Linked DNA regions of Homo sapiens: region 2 is linked to region 1. Evidence: promoter capture Hi-C in human tissues and cell types (Jung and others, 2019). All regions are on one chromosome and are shown on one strand. The core of a region is centred on a gene start or on the middle of the fragment in contact, and the rest is flanking DNA. Distances in the headings are between cores, read along the strand shown. Region 1 holds the start of RGS13 (regulator of G protein signaling 13). Region 2 has its middle 33 kb from the start of RGS13.

The links. Contacts are between HindIII fragments. The study calls those that stand out against the background at their distance.
Region 2: a contact is called between a fragment that was not itself captured here and the fragment with the promoter of RGS13 in region 1, in 1 of the 25 tissues and cell types used here (adrenal gland).

Annotation. Positions count from the first base shown.
Region 1 is chr1:192,633,695-192,637,396 of GRCh38, forward strand. It overlaps RGS13 (regulator of G protein signaling 13), which reads left to right and starts at 2,453. Exons shown (of 7, transcript NM_002927.5): 1 at 2,453-2,623. LOC107985241 (a long non-coding RNA gene) reads left to right here. Exons shown (of 2, transcript XR_001738348.2): 2 at 315-856. The HindIII fragment of the contact is 6,655 bases long and covers 852-3,702 here.
Region 2 is chr1:192,667,495-192,671,511 of GRCh38, forward strand. No RefSeq gene overlaps it. Among named protein-coding and RNA genes, the nearest start is that of RGS13, 33 kb to the left of the region's middle. RefSeq lists an enhancer at 763-1,264. The HindIII fragment of the contact is 3,894 bases long and covers 628-4,017 here.

The DNA.
Region 1 (3,702 bases), core at 1,203-3,702:
GAGCACTGCCGACTTTCTGGAAGGGCCAAGAGAATGGATTTAAAGCAGCTACCAAAAGGGAACTAAGAATGATTGGGAGTTAGTGACTAAACTTTATAGCATAACAGGACCATGATTATAATTAAAGACATCTTTAAAGCAAATCATCTGAATAAATGCACACAGAATTGGTAACTAACTTTAATTGCTACTGAGGTTTATTTTATGCTAACAATAGTGTTCAATGCTCAGTAATCTCTTCCTAATTTTTGTTGTCGGTATATTTTGGGTTCACACAAGTCAGAAACCAAAGTTAGATTGTTTCTAATTGGCAGCAAACCAGAGGGGACGGGAGACTGGTCAAGTCTCTGAGTCGTCCACTCCAAGATGCGGACAATGAGTGTATGAAGACAGACTGAGAATGCGCTGCAAAGAAGCTTGGAAGAAAATGAAGGCAGAGAGGACAGACCTGAAAGGCTAAGAGGGACAGATCAGCGTCCATGGAAAGCAGGAGCAGAAGCCAGTCTTCTTCCAAACACTGGCACAAACCACTGCCTACTGGATACATTTCACCAGACAATTCACCCCAGTGTCCAAGAGTTTATCTTGCTTCTAGAATATATTGAAAAGAGCCACCCTCTGAACAAATGGCAAACACTATATAGTATAAATAGGATGCACTGAAAATAGTAGGCTTATTTCTTAAGCTGTCATCACGAACATTAACCAGTAATTATATTTCTCCACTTTTTGTAGAAGACATAAATGGCAAATTCTGAATTTATAATTTCTAATACTTCATTTTTCTGCTCTTGTAAAGTTCATTTTGAACTTTCAACATAAAAATATTAAAGATTTTTAATTGTGCACATTTGAACTTGTGTTACTTTGGACTTACATTGGCTGAAATTGAAATATAGTAAAAGTGCTCTAGAGTAAGCAGATCAGTTCATCAGAAGGACAGCCTTTCAATGGAAAGGGCATTCCCAAGCTGCACCAACGAAAGCATAATCCTGTTACCTGCCCTAACCTGACAGCTCTGAATTAGTCTGATCCACCTATGTGCCGTACAAAGCATTATATTGCTATGATTTCATAAACTGAACTTGAACTACACTTTTTCAGAGAAACAAAACCATGTTTAGAAATCTGCCACAAATATCTACACATTGCTCTTGAATTCCTCCAGGAATTTCCACCTACTCGTGCTGTTACTCTTCACTCTATGATTTATTTGTTTTTCAGTCCCTGTCGATACTTAAGTTTTACTCTGTAGGGAGATTCTCATGTTTGACTCCATTAAACAAGCTTTGAAACTGACACTCGCACAGGGTGTTACTTCCAGAATCTTCCTGCCAGCTCCTTGCATCCACACCATGAGAAAGAGCAAACATTCCAAATCCCAAAAAAATGAATTATTTGGGGTGAGGAAAAGTCTTGACTATGACACTGAAGATTTCCTGAAGAGATCCAGCATCCAAAATGTCCTGAGTGGGGAGGAAATCGCACACCTAGCACCCAGAGAAAATGAGTGCTATCCACAAACAACCCAGATCCTCCCAAGCTGAGGCTAACCTGCCCTTCACTTCCTACATTATTGCTACATCTACGCAGCTTCTGACTTTCCAAAGTTTCCTTTCCTTTTCTAGTCCCAAACTTATCTCTCAGGTTTGAGAAATTCAATTTTCTTGGGTTTGAATCTCAAAATTATAAAAGACAAGTAAGGTTAATCTTCTATCTCATTGGGCCCCTAAATATTTTAAGAAACACTCCATCAACCACATTTTGATCTTCTTTACTGCTGTTTTATTCTAGCATTTCTTTACTCCTACCTCTCTGTTTCTCTCTCTCTCTCTCCCCCCAAACCCCCCAACTCCCCCACCCCTCCCCACACACACACACAATTGGAGTAAATCCAGGACAAGGGCATTCACAATCTTACCATATTCTGTATTCATTAGACCTTATCTTAAGCACTGTGTTCAATTCAGATTTTGAAGGCATGTTAACAAACTGTAGAACAACGGAGTCCAGAACTGCTGTAGAGGACCAGTTGAAGGAACTAGAGAGGTATAACTAGAAAAGATACTTTTTTAGATCCTTCAGTTGTTAAAAGTCCCTAGTAATCTATTACAAACAGATTGATTTTAATAGTTCTCAACCATTTGCTAACATGTGTTTGCAGTGATGTCCTATGTGTTTGTACTCAGTTCTCTGTCTTTTTTAAAAGGGAATTTTACTTTAGACTATACATTTTCTAAAACTAGAAAAATTATTTTGGAGAAAAAGATTTGAGTATTACTTTGAAGATTTCATGAAGCTGCTGCTTCCAATCATCTGATCACTTCAGATGGTCTGATAATGTTAGATAAAACCTCTTTATCAGTAATGCACTGGAGTCCTACAGCACTACTTTCCATATTCAACAAAACCTCTCTTTGCATAGATACGTGTGTGTAAAAACAGAACATTCATACTGAGGCCAGAGTGCCATCGAAGGTAATTATAGAGACAGTAAAATCCTTTTACTCTGGGAAAAATAAAATGCTGGGTGTCTCACAAAATTTCAGAACCTGATTTCAAACGGATCATAACAAAGAGGAGATCAAATTTAGCATGGTGGACTGCTCGACAGGATATATTTGTAAGTATGAGATTCTATAAAATAGTTGATAAATACAAGACTATTGGCTTGCTATAAATCACTAGCAGATGCTGATTTCAATGGTAGAACTTCTGGGAGTGTTAACAGAGGTTTTTCTAAGAAAAAAAGACAAACTAACAAACACATATTCTTTTGCCTGGCTTTCTATATTTAAAACAAAACTTAGAGTCACTCCTTATATAAATAAATCTTCTAAGTTGGGCAACAGAGGAAATGCTACAGTTTTAAAGTATATTATTTCATTTTATGTTTTTGTGTATATTTTCATTTTAAATGTTTTTCATTTTATATGTTTAGATAAAAACATATTATAAAATCAGACATAGCTGAATTATTTGTTTCAAAAATCATGCATTACCAAATTATTAGTTCCATCCTTTGTTAACTGTACTGAAGCCAGGTGTGGATTATTATAAGGTTTATCTGAAACATTGTTAATCTTGATTTTGTAGAATTTTTTTATTCTTTTATGTTATGCTTAAGCACAACTATGCACAAATTTCTTGAATTTTTTAAAGGACAAGAAATTTGTGTGCTGTGGTCAACAAAAGCTCACTAAAATATAAATTGCTCCAAATTTTACTAAATTTTATGTAACATGCTATATCATAAAATAAAGAAACATATTTAAATGCAGATATATGTAAACAGACAGAATTGCTTTAAGAAAATTTATTTATTTTCATAATACTTTAAGATTTCATTTAAATAATGGAGGAAACAAATCTAATTCTGGCATACTACTAATACAACTCAATCCATTACCAATGCATTTATAATCACTCTGAGAATTAGATTCTATCGGTGAAATGTATTTCTTTCAAATAATTATCAGGAGAAAACAGTGGAGGCAAAATCATCGTGGAGACCTAAACTTGTTCTAAACACTCTATGTTTCGATTGTAAAAGTACACACTAGTTTTACCAAGAGGGTATTGAAAAACAAAAAAGGAAAGCAAATTAATACACAATATTAAGATAAATATAGATTATTTAAATAAAAAGTAATGGAAAATTACAAATTAAAACAGTAAAGAAATTTTTATAATAAGCCATGA
Region 2 (4,017 bases), core at 1,325-3,824, 34 kb after region 1:
CTGCCTTGCTAGATTGGGGAGGTTCTCCTGGATTATATCCTGAAGAGTGTTATCTAACTTGGTTCCATTCTCCCCATCACTTTCAGGTCCACCAATCAAATGTAGATTTGGTCTTTTCACATAGTCCATATTTCTTGCACACTTTGTTTCTTTTCACTCTTTTTTCTCTAATCTTGTCTTCTCACTTTATTAATTTAATCTTCAATCACTGATATCCTTTCTTCCACTTGACTGAATAAGCTATTGAAGCTTATGTATGTTTCATGAAGTTCTCATACTGTGGTTTTCAGCTCCATCAGGTCATTTAAGCTCTTCTCTACACTGTTTATTCTAGTTAGCCATTCATCTAACCTTTTATCAAGGTTTTTAGCTTCCTTGCGATGGGTTAGAACATGCTTCTTTAGCTCGGTGAAGTTTGTTATTACTAACCTTCTGAAGCTTAGTTTTGTCAACTCGTCAAACTCATTCTCCATCCAGTTTTGTTCCTTGCTGCCGAGGAGTTGGGTTCCTTTGGAGGAGAAGAGGCTTTCTGGTTTTTGGAACTTTCAGCCTTTCTGCTCTGGTTTCTCCCCATCTTTGTGGTTTTATCTACTTTTGGTCTTTGATATTGGTAACCTATGGATGGTTTTGGTGTGGATGTCCTTTTTGTTGATGTTGATGCTATTCTTTTCTGTTTTTTAGTTTTCCTTCTGACAGGCCCCTCAGCTGCAGGTCTGCTGGAGTTTGCTGCAGGTCCACTGCAGACCCTGTTAGCCTTGGCATCACCAGCGGAGGCTGCAGAACAGCAAATATTGCTGCCTGATCCTACCTCTGGAAGCTTCGTCCCAAAGGGGCACCTGCCTGTATGAGGTGTCTGTCAGCACCTACTGGGCGGTGTCTCCCAGTCAGGCTACACGGAGGGCAGGGACCAACTTGAGGAGGCAGTCTGTCCATTATCAGAGCTTGAACGCCATGCTGGGAGAGCCACTTCTCTCTTCAGAGCTGTCAGGCAGGATGTTTAAGTCTGCAGAAGCTGTCTACTGCCTTTTGTTCAGCTATGCCCTGCCCCCAGAGGTGGAATCTATAGAGGCAGTAAGCCTTGCTGAGCTGCACTGGGATCCACCCAGTTCAAGCTTCCCTGCTGCTTTGTTTACACTGTGAGCATATAACTGTCTACTCAAGCCTCAGCAATGGTGAATGCCCCACCCCTTGCCAAGCTCCAGAGTCCCAGGTTGATCTCAGACCGCTGCACTAGCAGCAAGCAAGGCTCCGTGAGCATGGGACCTGCCAAGCCAGGCACGGGAGGGTATCTCCTGGTCTGCCAGTTGCTAAGACCGTGGGAAAAGCACAGTATTTGGGAAGGAGTGTACCATTCCTCCAGTACAGTTACTCACAACTTCCCCTGGCTAGGAAAGGGAAATCCCCCAACCCCTTGCACTTCCCAGGTGAGGTGACAACCCACCCTGCTTCAGCTCACCCTCCATGGGCTGCACCCACTGTCCAGACAGTCCCAATGAGATGAACCAGGTACCTCAGTTGGAAATGCAGAAATCACCCATCTTCTGCGTCGATCTCACTGGGAGCTGTAGACCGGAGTGGTTCTGATTTGGCCGTCTTGGAAGCCGGGGCAATATTAATACTCTTTACAGTATTTAAACTTCACTGTATTTAAACTTTGTATTTGTATCTTTACTGTATTTAAACTTTAGTGATAATATGTATAAAGTGTTAGAACCTGTATGATTTATAATGGATGGGAGAAAATAGGGTATCATTAAGATTCTTGGAGCACTGAGTAATATTGTTCACTGCTGTGGAGGCCAGAAGGTAACAGAAGAATATAAATTTCTTAAGACTACAGCCATATCTTATTTTGCATCATATCCTCACTGCTAGGTAGAGGACATCGAAAGTATGACACTCAAAAAAATAGATAAATGAATGAGTGAATGAGTAAATAAATGAATCAGTCAATTCATCATCAGTGAGAAATGAATAAATCTGGTGTCAGATCTCCTTTACTCTGTAACTCAGCACTGCCAACTTTTAAAAAGCAATTCCTGGATTGCTCAAAAAATGTAAAATTTCAGGATAATACATGTATAAAAATAGAGCATTATGATCTGAATTTTAACAACTGAGCAAATCTTCTATCCAATGCATAGAAAGACTGGACAAACAAAAGATCAGTTCTACTAAATATTGTTGATATCAGAAAGAGTGTGACAATGCAAGCCAAATAGGGACAGGAAAATATATACGTTAGTGAGTATGGTTCGCTAGTTGAAGGGAGAGCAGGCTTTAAAGCAATGCTCGGTTATCTCATCAATAAAGCAGTGATAACTCTGGTTGTTTTCATTATTAACAAATATATTAAATTTTCCTTGATTTTTTTTAACAATTTCTAATTCCTTTTCCAACCAAAAAAGTTCTTGGTTTTCTTTTCCTAAGTCAGGAAGGTGAGTTGAATGAATATGTGAATAAATGTGCTTATCAAATTTTCTTTCAAAATAATTTCTAAAAGCTGAACTTCTAAATTTTAATTGACTTCCATTTAATATTTCTATCAATTGCAGAAAGACAGCTTTTCACATCATTATCATAGCAGATTCTTAGCACTTGTCAGAATATTTTAGAGGAAAAAACTCACATCCTTTTCATTTTCTTTATTCAGCACATAGCACAGGATAAATGTTCTGTACAAATGGATAAATATTCTATACTTTTGATGAAAAATAAAATACCTAAAATATTTAAGATTATTTTTCCAAAGAATTAAATATAGAAAATTTTTGTTGAAGGTATTTAGTTCTACTATGAAAAATGTTTCTTGGCTCTCAAATTCAACTGAAATGTCATTACTAATTTGAAATGGTTACAAACTACATGATATGAAAATGAGTATTAACTAGAATTCCTACTAAGAAGCAAAAGGATTATTATAGGCAAATTGTCCATATTGAAAGTAAACTACCATTATTATTGATCTAAATATGAGAAATTTTATTTGTGATATTCCACACAATAAATATTGGGGGATTCATTTCCAAGATAGAGAATCAGCTGTAAAAGAGAATATTTTCATTAAAAAGTATATGATTGATTAAGGTGAACTGTTGTTAGTTGTGGAAGGTGTTACCACAGTAGTCCAATTTTATCTAAGCCACTTGATTTTATTTATTTTCTCTTAAAAATACCAGTATAAAAATACAGGTTGAAGTCCTAGATATCTAAACTTGATGATTTCTAGCCACTATAGGCAGAAAAAAAAGTATTTCCACATTTCAGATTCTCCTCATCTCACTCCATCAGTGAATGAGTATCTATCTATCTATCTATACACACACACACACACACACACACACACACACACACATAAATATATGGGCAAGTAGGAAATGTTACACATATGGTTTGGCTCTGTGTCCCCACCCAAATCTCATCTTGAATTGTACTCCCATAATTCTCATATGTTGTGGGAGGTACCTGGTGGGAGATAAGTGAATCATGGGGGCGGGTTCCCCCATACTGTTCTCATGGTAGTGAGTAAGTCTCATGAGATCTGATGGTTTGATACAGGGAAACCTGTTTTGCTTGGCTCTCATTCTCTCTCTTGCTGCCACCATGTGAGACGTGCCTTTCACCTTCCACCATGATTGTAAGGCCTCCCCAGCCACGTGGAACTGTAAGTCCAATAAACCTATTTCTCTTGTAAATTGCCCAGTCTCAGATATGTCTTTATCAGCAGCATGAAAACTAACTAATACAACATGCATGGCCACAATACACATGCTTCAAGCACTTTCAGAACACCATGGGTCTTTCTCATTCAAATTATACAAAATCAGCCTAATACGGACATAACTAGTAAATGATATCAGAATAATTAGCATTCTTTACTACTTATTTTTCCCCTTGAATACATGGATATTTGTACTCCAAAACAGAGTAAGTCTAGAGTTTTCAGTTTTGCTTAATATTCTGATTTTACCTCCTAAATACAGGCTTTCTGTCCTGCTCCCTCAGCACCTCCACATC